Regions from separate parts of the Homo sapiens genome. Here all the other regions are linked to region 2. The links are contacts of gene promoters, found by promoter capture Hi-C in blood cells and fetal thymus (Javierre and others, 2016). All regions are on one chromosome and are shown on one strand. The core of a region is centred on a gene start or on the middle of the fragment in contact, and the rest is flanking DNA. Distances in the headings are between cores, read along the strand shown. Region 1 holds the start of LPAR4 (lysophosphatidic acid receptor 4). Region 2 holds the start of ATP7A (ATPase copper transporting alpha). Region 3 holds the start of RTL3 (retrotransposon Gag like 3).

The links. Contacts are between HindIII fragments. The CHiCAGO score rates a contact against its expected background, and 5 or more counts as called.
Region 1: a contact is called between the fragment with the promoter of LPAR4 here and the fragment with the promoter of ATP7A in region 2, in 2 of 17 cell types (naive B cells and megakaryocytes). The highest score is 10.6, in naive B cells.
Region 3: the fragment with the promoter of RTL3 here is called in contact with the fragment with the promoter of ATP7A in region 2 in 3 of 17 cell types (neutrophils, activated CD4 T cells and erythroblasts); the score reaches 8.9 in neutrophils.

What each region holds. Positions count from the first base shown.
Region 1 is chrX:78,745,760-78,749,636 of GRCh38, reverse strand. LPAR4 (lysophosphatidic acid receptor 4) reads right to left here and starts at 1,917. Exons shown (of 5, transcript NM_001278000.3): 1 at 1,603-1,917. The HindIII fragment of the contact is 2,609 bases long and covers 478-3,086 here.
Region 2 is chrX:77,908,924-77,912,808 of GRCh38, reverse strand. ATP7A (ATPase copper transporting alpha) reads right to left here and starts at 2,116. Exons shown (of 23, transcript NM_000052.7): 1 at 1,974-2,116. The HindIII fragment of the contact is 7,135 bases long and covers 257-3,885 here.
Region 3 is chrX:78,657,654-78,661,203 of GRCh38, reverse strand. RTL3 (retrotransposon Gag like 3) reads left to right here and starts at 1,876. Exons shown (of 2, transcript NM_152694.3): 1 at 1,876-1,943; 2 at 2,556-3,550. The coding sequence starts at 2,784. All of the region lies in intron 1 of LOC107985670 (a long non-coding RNA gene), which reads right to left. The HindIII fragment of the contact is 2,616 bases long and covers 920-3,535 here.

The DNA of each region.
Region 1 (3,877 bases), core at 668-3,167, 840 kb before region 2:
TCTTCCAAATTCCCTTATTTTCCTCATCCTCTGTCCTTGTGCTCATTTCAGCAGGCATATCACCTCTAATTGTTTAGGTCTCAACCCTCAACCCTTCCCACCTGTTTCCTGGTCACTTCACCCCTCAGAATATGAGGTTATCGGCATATTTCAGGACATAACCATGTAGAATCATTAGATCATTTACCCGTTACATTGTTCTGATAACTGATTATTTATCCGCTTAAAGTAAAGGTGGATTCCCAGTGGTAGGTAACCTTTTATTGGGCTCCCAATTTTCAGTACTAATATTCGCAAACACATTACAGGTTTTGTTCTTCCCCCAACAAGAAGGCCAAGGGCAGACTATATGTGATGACCATATACACAGACAAAAGGTAGCTACACAATTAGGCGCTGAACAAACCACAGCAAGGGCAACAATTCTCACTGCATTTTCCCAAAAGGCAATTGAATAGATCAAGCTTTAGCTAAGCTTGGCCTGAATGTTTCTGTGAGGCATCTTCCTGGTTCTCCCTTTAACTTGCAGAGAGCACACATTCTGAAAGACTGGCCTGATTGTTCCAATAAGGCTTTCATTCCCATCTCTGATTGGCAGGAGAGACTTTAGAATGTAGATGCCATCAAGTTTATCAGGTGAACTCATCCTTCTTGGCAAGAGTGCAACTTTTCATCTGTGACAAGGCAAAAGGTTTTATAATCTATGTTGATGGGATATGATGTTGGGAATTTTGTTCTGAAAAATAAACGTGTTGCAAAGCCATTGGGTAATCTGGATCTCAGGTTATTATTATTGTCTTTATGTTAGTCAAGATAAAGAAAGATGGTATAATTTTGTAAGGTAGCAAAGTGAATAACCCCACCAAGCTCTGAAATATTCTAACCTTTGAATTTGTCTGGTCTTTTCCACACTGAAATAATGATAAATTACATTGCTGAATTTCCTTTTAAAAGGTAACTGAAATACTGTATTTAGCAACTCAATAAGACCTTTTTACTGAAAATATTTAAAATTTACAAGAAGAGAGTTTAAAGATGACACATTGATGCATTTGTATGGCAAACAGCAATTAATTTCACATATAATTGCAAATTCAGTTTATGACAGAGTTTTTCATTCAAACATGATTCTTCCTTTATGGGCAAGTTCATGAATTATTCAATATAGCAAATGTCACATTCTCCATAAATCAATTAAGCATCAAAGACATGTCATGTATAGTTTTACTAGAAGAAACCTCATCATAATACAAGCCACGTTAGCGCACAATAAACTGTAAACCAAAGAAATACAAAGCTAGTCGACATACTTTCTAAATTGTTCTACACTGTGATTTTAAATTAGCTCTTTAGAACAACTGTGTTTACATGAAACAGCAGCCTGAAAATCCTGTATGTCTTCCACGGAAACAATATTATTGCCAAAACAATGGAAATTCTCGTTTTTTACCATTCATCACGAAGATCCTTGTTCAGTACTTCAGAGTTGAAGTCTAACTTCTTTCCTTACACTCTCAAAGCATCAGTGTTTCCACTGTAGTTTGTTATGCTATCCCCCACCCCCAAACGCCAAAATCAAATCTTTTTAAAAGAGAAACTTACCCCAAGAAAGAGTGTGCTAGATGAGAGAATGTGCTGATGCCTGTAGATAATTAGCTAATAAACATGTAAATGGGCAACTCGCCCTTTGGAAGTGCATATTTTTATCCATTTTTTTTTTTTTTTTTTTTTTTTTTTTTTTACAGGGAAAGGTTAGCCCAGCCTAAAGTAGCAGACTCTGGGCTGCCGCAGCTTTTTACTGCAAACCGCTCATTCTGTAAATGTGAGCTTATTTACATTTATCTCTTTCCCTTTGTTAACGACTCCCTCTCTTGAATGCTGTAGCCCGCATGCCTTTAGCAAACAGGACACAAAAAGGCCTGAAGTCCGAGCTGGAGCCGACGGCCAGGGGAACTCTTGGGGGTCTCAATAGGAAATGCTTTTCATTGGCTAAGGAGGCATTATTAGGAGTCTAGATCCCGCCCAATTCCCTGTGCTCCATCGTTCCCTTAGTCACCAGTCACTGGACTGAATAAGTTTTTCCTTAAAGAGCATTGCCCAGGAAAAGCAGTTTCACAGTCAAGAATTAATGGCTTAAGTGCCACTTGACAATATAAAAAGTGTCTTTCCTGACCAATTAATCCACAGAGAAAGCCTGTGTGCCTGTCTTTGCCGCAGGACTGCAGAGGAGGAGACAACATTTCAAACAAGGAGGAGTGTTTCAATTATGCATACCATGTTCGCTCCTACTTGTTTAAAATAATTACAACAATATTGATAATAATAAGTAGGGGGCAAGGAAAAGGCAAAAATGAAAGGTACCATAAAAATATTCCTATCACACTGTGCAAAATTCAATCTCCCACCATCACAAAAATATAAAGTAAATTTTAATACTACACTCACTTAAGCCAGATAAGTGCCCTCAGATAGAGATGTACTAGGGTCCCAGAGCTCTGACACCCACCTTCCAAGGACTAGGGAGTGTTCTGTAGCAAAAGGAGGGTCTACACTTCTCAAGTAACTGCCTCGCAGTAAGTCTAATTACCATGAAAATTTCAGAGATTTGCTAAAATACAAAATAAATAGCACAGATGCAATCTATTTACAATAGAGAGTTATCTGCAACTGTATACCTCCGCCCACCTCCCCCATGGCAAGATTTTCTTTTCTAATTATCTACAGGTTTACTGCCTTGGTCACTCACAATTCTTTTTTTTTTTCCTCCCTATATTTTCCTCTTCACCTCCCTCTCCTTGATCTGATTTTGTGGCAGAAACCCACTCATCCATCTGTAACTTCATTGTTGGCCCTTCCCCTCTGCCAGCCCACCCCTGCAAGCCTTCTCTACTCTATCTCCACCCACTGCAAAAGCCACCAACAGCAGCCCCTCCCCCTCCTCTGGAATGAAATTCTCTGCCCAGGGATAAGGTGCTTTCTTTCTCTTGGCAGAGCAGAGCCCCTGGAGTCTTGGAGGATCCTCTATTTGCTTCAGAACTTCAGTTTGTGTAATTAAGCTGCCTCCCAAGTAGGGCATGTTTCAAGCTTGTTTATTCTCCCTATTTGTTCAGCTCTATTGTGGCTCTTCTCACTATCAGTGGAGGCCAGTAAACAAGTTAGTGTGAAGCTGACACTAGCCTTATTACTTGTAACTGGCTCTAAAAAAACACTTTCTCTGTTGCTTCCTCTTCTCCATCCCACCGCCCATCTCTGTTCTTTTTATTCCCCTCTCTGCTTATCTCAAATATGTCTATTTCTGTCAGTTGCTGACATTGTCTGTGTCTTTATAAATGGTCTTTTACCAACTCTCATCCTAGACCAGTACTCGGTGCATTTGTCAGTCCACAGGCGAAAGATACAGTCTCTACCCTGCAGTATGCCAGAGTCTAGGTAGGGACACAAAGACACATGAAAAAAGTGGGATACCAAAGGTAAATTTTGAAAAAAAAAATACCAAGGCAGTTATATGGAGATTGAGTTCTGTAATAGATCAGAGGATGGAGATGAAGTCCCATGGATAGGGCCAGGAGGGTTTCTTAGAAGAAGTGGGATTTGTGCCACATTTTGGTGGATGATTCAGTATTAAATAAACCAAGAATGGAAGGGGATATATTTCTAGGTGGGCAGAGCAAAGTGATCAAATGCAGAAGATGTAAAGTGAGAGTAGGTGAGAAGGAGACCAGTTTGTAAAGGGAAAATAAGGGTAAGGAGAAAAGCTTTTGAGAGGAGTACTTTACTGTAGCAACTCAATGCACTATAGTGATTGAAGGGTTAACCTATAGTCATGATCACTGTCTGTCTATATGATCAGCTCACTACCTTTCTCCTCTTCAAATTA
Region 2 (3,885 bases), core at 867-3,366:
AATTTAGAGGAAAAAAGGAAAAGCAGAGATTCCTTGGGGAAAACCTGGAACAGTTGCTCACTTCAGAAAATGTTATTCATTCCCAACAATTTTAAAAATGATTCCAAATTATATTTAAGGCACAACACTCAATCAGAATTAAAGTATAGCGAGTTTTACATTTTTTCTCTTTTAGATTTGAGTTTACATCAGAATTAAGCCTCATACATTAACATTGCTTTTGTCATTTCCATGTATTTTTTTCTCTATATAAGCTTTCTTATTGGCTGGAGGGCAGTTGGATATGTTTGTGAGCTGACTAGTTTTGTATTCTATATTTTTTCTAATTTTAATCAGTGACATCTTGGAAGATGTGGCTGTTAGAAATAGGAATATTGACTTACAGTGTGTTACTGGATGTCGGGCAACTTTCCAGACCCCCATGGCTTTGCTCACATTATTTCTTCTATCTATCAGTCCAGATAGATGTCTTCCTCTTCCTCCATTCCTGCAAAGCTAAATCCTATCTATTTTTCAAAGCCCAGTTCACATGCTCCCTTCCCTGCACTCTCATAACACCTCCTGTTTCTAATATATAACGTTAGTGAGATTTTTTAAATGTTTAGGTAATCGTGTATCTTTCTTTCCTACTACATTGAGATCCTCAAGTACAAAAAAAACTCTCTCATGTCATGACCTTAGACACCAGAAAATGTTAAATATAATAAAATGCCAGTTCAAAAATAACCATTGAAAAGGATGTGATAAGCAACCTAGTAATTCAGTCAGTGGGGCTGCTAGAAACCGTTGTCTTCATAGCTGAATTCAACTGACTCAATTCGGACTCAATTGTATGTAAACTGTTTATTTTTCTTTCTTCTTTTTTGGAGACAGTTTCGCTCTTGTAGCCCAGGCTGGAGTGCAGTGGCACGATCTCGGCTCACTGCAACATCCGCCTCCCAGGTTCAAGCGATCCTCTTGCCTCAGTCTCCCGACTAGCTGGGATTACAGGCGCCCGCCACCACGCCCAGCTAATTTTTGTATTTTTAGTAAAGACAGGGTTTCGCCATGATGGCCAGGCTGGTCTCGATCTCCTGACCTCAGGTGATCCACCCTCCTCGGCCTCCCAAAGTGTTGGTATTACAGGTGTGTCAGACACTGCGCCCAGCCTACTGTAAGTAAACTCTTTTGAGGCCAGGAACTCTGTCTTATTTCTTGTGCATCACCCCCTCCCCACCACCCCCCCGCACCCGGCAAAAAAAAAAAAAAATTAATAACCTCAGTATCATCTAATTCAATGTTCTGCACATATTCTCAATACAAAGCCATACTATTGTAGATAAAGAGTCTGTGATTAAAATAAAGATCAGATCCTGGACAAACGCTGAATTGTGAAACGATAAGTGTTTGTGCTTAAGATAATCTCAACGTCTACAACGAAGAAAAGTGTCAAAGATAAGATGCCACAGGGTCGGACAATGGACAGTAACTTTACTGGAAAGGGGGCACAATGAACAAAACTAAGTGGAAACAAGAGTTCTCTCAGTTTACCTTACGCTCCCAGAGCAAGACAAGAAGCCAAATATCTATTTTTCAATTATTATTTCATCAATTATGGTCATTTTAGTAACCTTAGCTTCCAAAGTATAAAGAGGTGTCACTAAGCAAAGACCCCAGTCCATGTGACTTTCAATGCCAAACACAAACTTTCTTGTACCCTCAATTAATTGGGTAACGTAGGCCATGGATGATCAGGACATTCTCTCCAAGAGGGTACAAGAAAGTGACACAGGTCAGGATTTAATTTCCCCTCCTCTATCCCCTGTTAGGGGAGGTAAAACATAAATGTAGTTAATACCTGAATTGTGAATAAGTGAAACTTTCGAGACTGCCCCAGACTAACATGACCTTCTCACCACACTCGTAGTACAAACTGACAGCACAGAAGACCCCCTCCAGGAGAAAGGACGACGGGAAGCCAATGTAGGACTTACCTGGTTTCTCTATCCTATGGTTAAACCTCTGGAGCTACGCAGACCGTGGCAGCGATAAATCCACGTACGCAGGCTCCAACAAAGCTCACACAATCGGAGAAGTCACAGTAGCTGCGGCTGCGGCGGCGGCAGCAACAACTCCTCCCTCTGCTTCTCTTTTCCCACCCCCCGCCGCGGCGGCCAGCCGCCTTTACCCCTCCCTCCCTCGACTACCCCCACTTCCGGGTGATGCCCCTGCCGGAAGCAGGGCCGCCACGGGAAAGAGAGCGACTGGTCACGTGAAAAGGAACGCGTGGTCTAGAGCCAGCTTCTCCTGCCCCCTGCTGCCCCCGGGCCGACACGCAGCCTCGAGTGGGTCTTTGTTAGGGTACGAGTCCACTATCCCACCCCGCCCCCACGACAAAAGCGAAACCAGAAAACCCATACTAAAACAGTGCCTTTGTCATCTTTAGTTTCCTAACCTCAGGCCAAGATGTAACATAAAAGATCCTTATAAGTCATCTTCCACATAGTTCATCTTTGCCTAGCATGAAATTCACGTGCATCTGTTAGACTGTGTTAACTGCCAAGATGTAACATAAAAGCTCCTTATAAGTCATCTTCCACATAGTTCATCTTCGCCCAGCATGAAATTCACGTGCATCAGTTAGACTGTGTTAACTGCCAAGATGTAACATAAAAGCTCCTTATAAGTCATCTTCCACATAGTTCATCTTCGCCCAGCATGAAATTCACGTGCATCTGTTAGACTGTGTTAACTTGCTTCCCGTAGACTGTGTAGCCTAATTCCAGATGTAAGTGCCAGAACTATGAATTTATCCTCTTCCCTCCATTGAAAAATTACATCAAGAGGAAAATGTTTATAAATTCATAATTTTTATATGTGTGTTGAGGGGGTAGGGACGTCACTTCACCACCTTCATAGCGCCATTCCAAGCTCTGAACCACTCCCCCATTTATTCATTCACTCGTCCATCATTTTACACACCTAGAAGATTCCGGTGATGCAAAAGTGTTACAGTCTCTGTTACCATGAGTTCATTTAGAAATGAGATGCATAAAATGTAAACAATGCAATAAATGGTACAGAAAACATTTGAAAAAAGGGTCATTTTATTCTTGCTTTCCAACTTAACATTTTGAAAAGCAGCAAAATTCTAGGATTTTTAAAACTATGAACATTAACAGTAAAAAGAGGGAGAGGCTCCATCTCACTTATTTCAAAGCAAGATGTGGCCTTTTCATATTTCCTTTCATGAAGTATCTGTCATAAGATGTAGAACAAAACTAATCACAGGACTATTTGTATTTTCATCTGGAACCATTTGAACCCAGTTCCCACAGAAGAGTATGAAGCCTAATAATGTTGCAGAAATCAAAATAGTACACAAAATACAAATATCAAGTAAATATTTGTAAAAGACTTAGAACAGCGTCCGGCACAAAGTAAGCATATTTAAGTGTTGAAATAATTTCCATCCTAGCTGTTGTCAAGTCCCTATTAAGCCTTGACAGGCAACATTTAAAATTACCCATAGATCTACATTTTAGGTCTGTGATTAAGTATTTCAGAATTATTATCCCCCTCCACACTCATCCACATAAATATAAAATTAGCCTCAGGACTCATCTTCCCAGGCATTATTTTGTAGTTGTCAATGTGTGCAGCCTTAATTATTAAGATACAAACTCAGCCCCAAATTTAAAATCTTAAAAATCACATCATATGAAATGAAGATAGCTTTTAAGTGGGTTTCCAAATATTAGCAAGTTGGTTTGTAACTATATTAACATTGTGTTAAGCATCCAAAAGAAATTCACTAAAAGGCAAAACCAAAAATATATCTTTTTCAGAAGCAGAACATTGAATCTACTAGCTATCTAGTATTTTTATGTAAATACTAAAGTTTAT
Region 3 (3,550 bases), core at 627-3,126, 750 kb before region 2:
TACTGCTGCTACAGCTTATTATTATTATTATTATTATTATTATTAACCTTTATTGGGTGTTATTAGCTGCCAGACACTGTGCTAATCCTTTTTTCACACATTATTTCACTGAATTTTTGACAACCCTATAAAGTCAAATAATATTAATAACTTCATTTTACAGTTTCATAAACTAAAGTTTAGATTCTAACTATCAGAAGGATGAAGTAATTTGCCAAATTTGTATAGGGTAAGTATAGACAGGCATATAGGTATAACATGAAGGGCTATGTTACAACTTGATTGCAAAAGAGTATAAAAATATAAAGGAAAAGAAAATACAAGAAGTCGCAAAACATAGCAATTTGGAAGTTTTTAATTTGAAGACAGACCACTTTATACCTCTCAGTAGCTTTCAGAGGGCAACACTGTGTTACAACAGGGTAAACTAGCTGGTTTGTGTAAGTATGAATCCAAACCATTAAAACTGGATTAAATTATATGCAAAATCATTTCTTAAGAATGGACAAAGAGGTATAACATATGCTATAAATATTTCTCTGATTTTTTTAAATTGAAATACTCTTTATTAAATTTCAACTTGATGTCCAGTATTGAACCTTCAAACTCATTGTTACAGAAATTGCTAAACATTAGGAAAGAGTTTCAATTAATAGTTGTTCCCTAACTAAGCCCGTTACAAATTCAGGTGTTGGAAGTTCTCTTTTCTTTCTGGATAAAATAAATGTTAACTGTGTGTTTTGGCTTCTTGGAGGGCAGGAAGGCTTCAGTTATCTGAAAACTTCACATAAATAGATCACATCATCCCTGATGATGGTGGTATTTTTATATGTGTGGTGTTTCTAGAAAAATAAAACTTTGAAAGGTAAGGAAAGAATAAACTCGATTTGCAAAAGATTTTGTTTTTACTTTCAAAGCTTCTGCATTCGGATTCAGGTAGCCCAGTCTGTCAATTTGCTATGTTTTGGGCCTATTCCATCACTAGGGTTTATCCCATTATGCTGACTAATGCAGAACTGACCATTTGTGAAGGAGACATGGGACTGTGGTTGACATGATGTGTGATTTGAAATGGCCAAATGCAAACCTCAACCCCACTCCTTACTTGGATAAAAATAGTTGCCCCTAAGCCTTGCCTAAAATGGCCACATAGCCCATACCCAAGGCATAACTGTGATCTGGCATGAGAAGAGAAAGTGAGATTCTGAGCAGGGTTACTTCCCAAGAGGCCAGTCTTTAGTGAATGTCCTGAGTGCTACCTGGAGCACCTGATCAGTTCAGGGAAGCATGAGATCTTTGGTCCAGGACATTCAGAAAGAGCCAGGGACTCTGTAAGACTGCTATAAGTACCCACCAACACAATTGGTCTCCCTGACATTTGTACCCTTTTATACCTTTTCTAGATCTGTCTGTGGCAAATTTTCCAAGAAAACATTGCAAGGAAAAACCCTAGGGACTGAATAGGTAGTAAGCAAGGGAAGGGGCTGAGGGTTTGCAGGCTGTTCCCTGAGTGAGAAGTAAACAAATGGCCCAATTTGGACAGAGTAAGAATAGGTTAGATGAGACAGACATAAAAAATCACATCCCAAACCACTGTGGTCATTCAAAAATGTTTGCAACTTTTCACAAGGGCAGTGGTATTACTCACAATTTCCTGGCCAAATATTCATTAAAGTAACCAAGGACTGAGTACATGAAGCTGCTTCACATCAGCACAGCATCCTACTTTCCTTGCAGCTCTGAACTGTGAGGTACTGTCAAAAAACTCTTCCACACTTTAAAAAGCTATGTTACAGAGGAAAGTTGGAATGTGTTCTGGGAGTGGGTGTGTTTGCTTGAGTTCAGTGTGTGCAGAAAAGGCAAGCCTCCACAGCCATTTACACATTTCCCTCCTCAGCAATGGGTACACAGACAGCCAAGCTCCTGGACTAAGTCTCTGAATGGTAACGTACATTTATAAAGATTATTTTCTTAACTATTTTGAGGTATTTTATAAATAATATGCATGTGTCTTCTGAGGGCATATATATATATATATATATATATTTAGTCGACTTTTGCTTGTTTTCTCCTGAGGCTGGTCTTGTGTGGTTACTTATGTGGTATGATTTCTGAGGTGTCAGAAAGAGCTCCCTCCTACTTCCTACCACCCTAGTCACCCAAAAATATCTCTTGGGCTGGCCCACCGCAGAGCCTAAAATTCCCACATTGCTCAAACATTTGATTTAGTCACTGAAAGCAGCTGTTAAAATCCAAATGTTACATTGGGATATTAGGCAGATATTCAAGATTAAAGACTATATAAAACAGAAAATAATATTAAAAAGTTGCTTTTGATATAATGTTAAGTTTCAAAGGATAAATGCAAAATGACATGTGCAGTTTGGGACAGATGCTGTTCTTAAAATGTCGTGGAGTCAGATCCAGCATATATACCCCAGCTCATGAACATAAGCCTATGGTAAAAGAAACCCAGCATTGTTGGGCAGATTTTGTTTTATGTTGAATGTGTGCTTTCCACAGTTTCTGATCCTCAGCTCCCACTCTCTTCGCAGTGTATCTGACACTTCCCCTTACTGAGCTCCGGAGGCTCCTTCTTGCCGAGCTCCGGAGGCTCCCAGTGACCTCTTGATAATCAGCCTTGGCGGGGCCCAAATACCACCCCTTGGAAAACTCACTGAGCCTGACATCTGCCTGTAAGCAGCTTTCAGGAAGGATCTCACAAACACCCACCCAATCTCTCTTGGTAGCAAATTGTCAAATCATACCCATTTCCTCAAAAGATGGTGGAGGACTTAGCAGCCTCCTATATTGTTCTGAAATTGGAGAATGAAATTCGGCAGGCTCAAGTGCAGTGGCTGATGGAAGAAAATGCTGCTCTCCAGGCCCAGATCCCAGAGCTTCAGAAGTCCCAAGCAGCCAAGGAGTATGATCTACTCCGAAAGTCCTCAGAGGCCAAGGAGCCCCAGAAGCTCCCAGAGCACATGAATCCCCCAGCAGCCTGGGAGGCCCAAAAGACCCCAGAGTTCAAGGAACCCCAGAAGCCACCAGAGCCACAGGATCTTCTACCCTGGGAACCCCCAGCAGCCTGGGAACTCCAGGAGGCCCCAGCAGCCCCAGAGTCCCTGGCGCCTCCAGCAACCCGGGAGTCCCAGAAACCTCCAATGGCCCATGAGATCCCAACAGTCTTGGAGGGCCAGGGGCCTGCAAACACCCAGGATGCCACAATAGCCCAAGAGCCCAAGAATTCAGAACCCCAGGATCCCCCAAATATTGAGAAGCCCCAGGAGGCACCAGAATACCAGGAAACTGCAGCACAGCTAGAGTTCCTTGAGCTTCCACCTCCCCAGGAGCCTCTGGAGCCTTCAAATGCCCAGGAATTCCTAGAACTCTCAGCAGCCCAGGAGTCCCTGGAGGGTCTAATAGTTGTGGAGACATCAGCAGCTTCAGAGTTTCCACAGGCCCCTATTGGGTTAGAGGCTACAGATTTCCCCCTGCAATACACTTTAACCTTCAGTGGAGATTCCCAGAAGCTTCCTGAGTTCCTGGT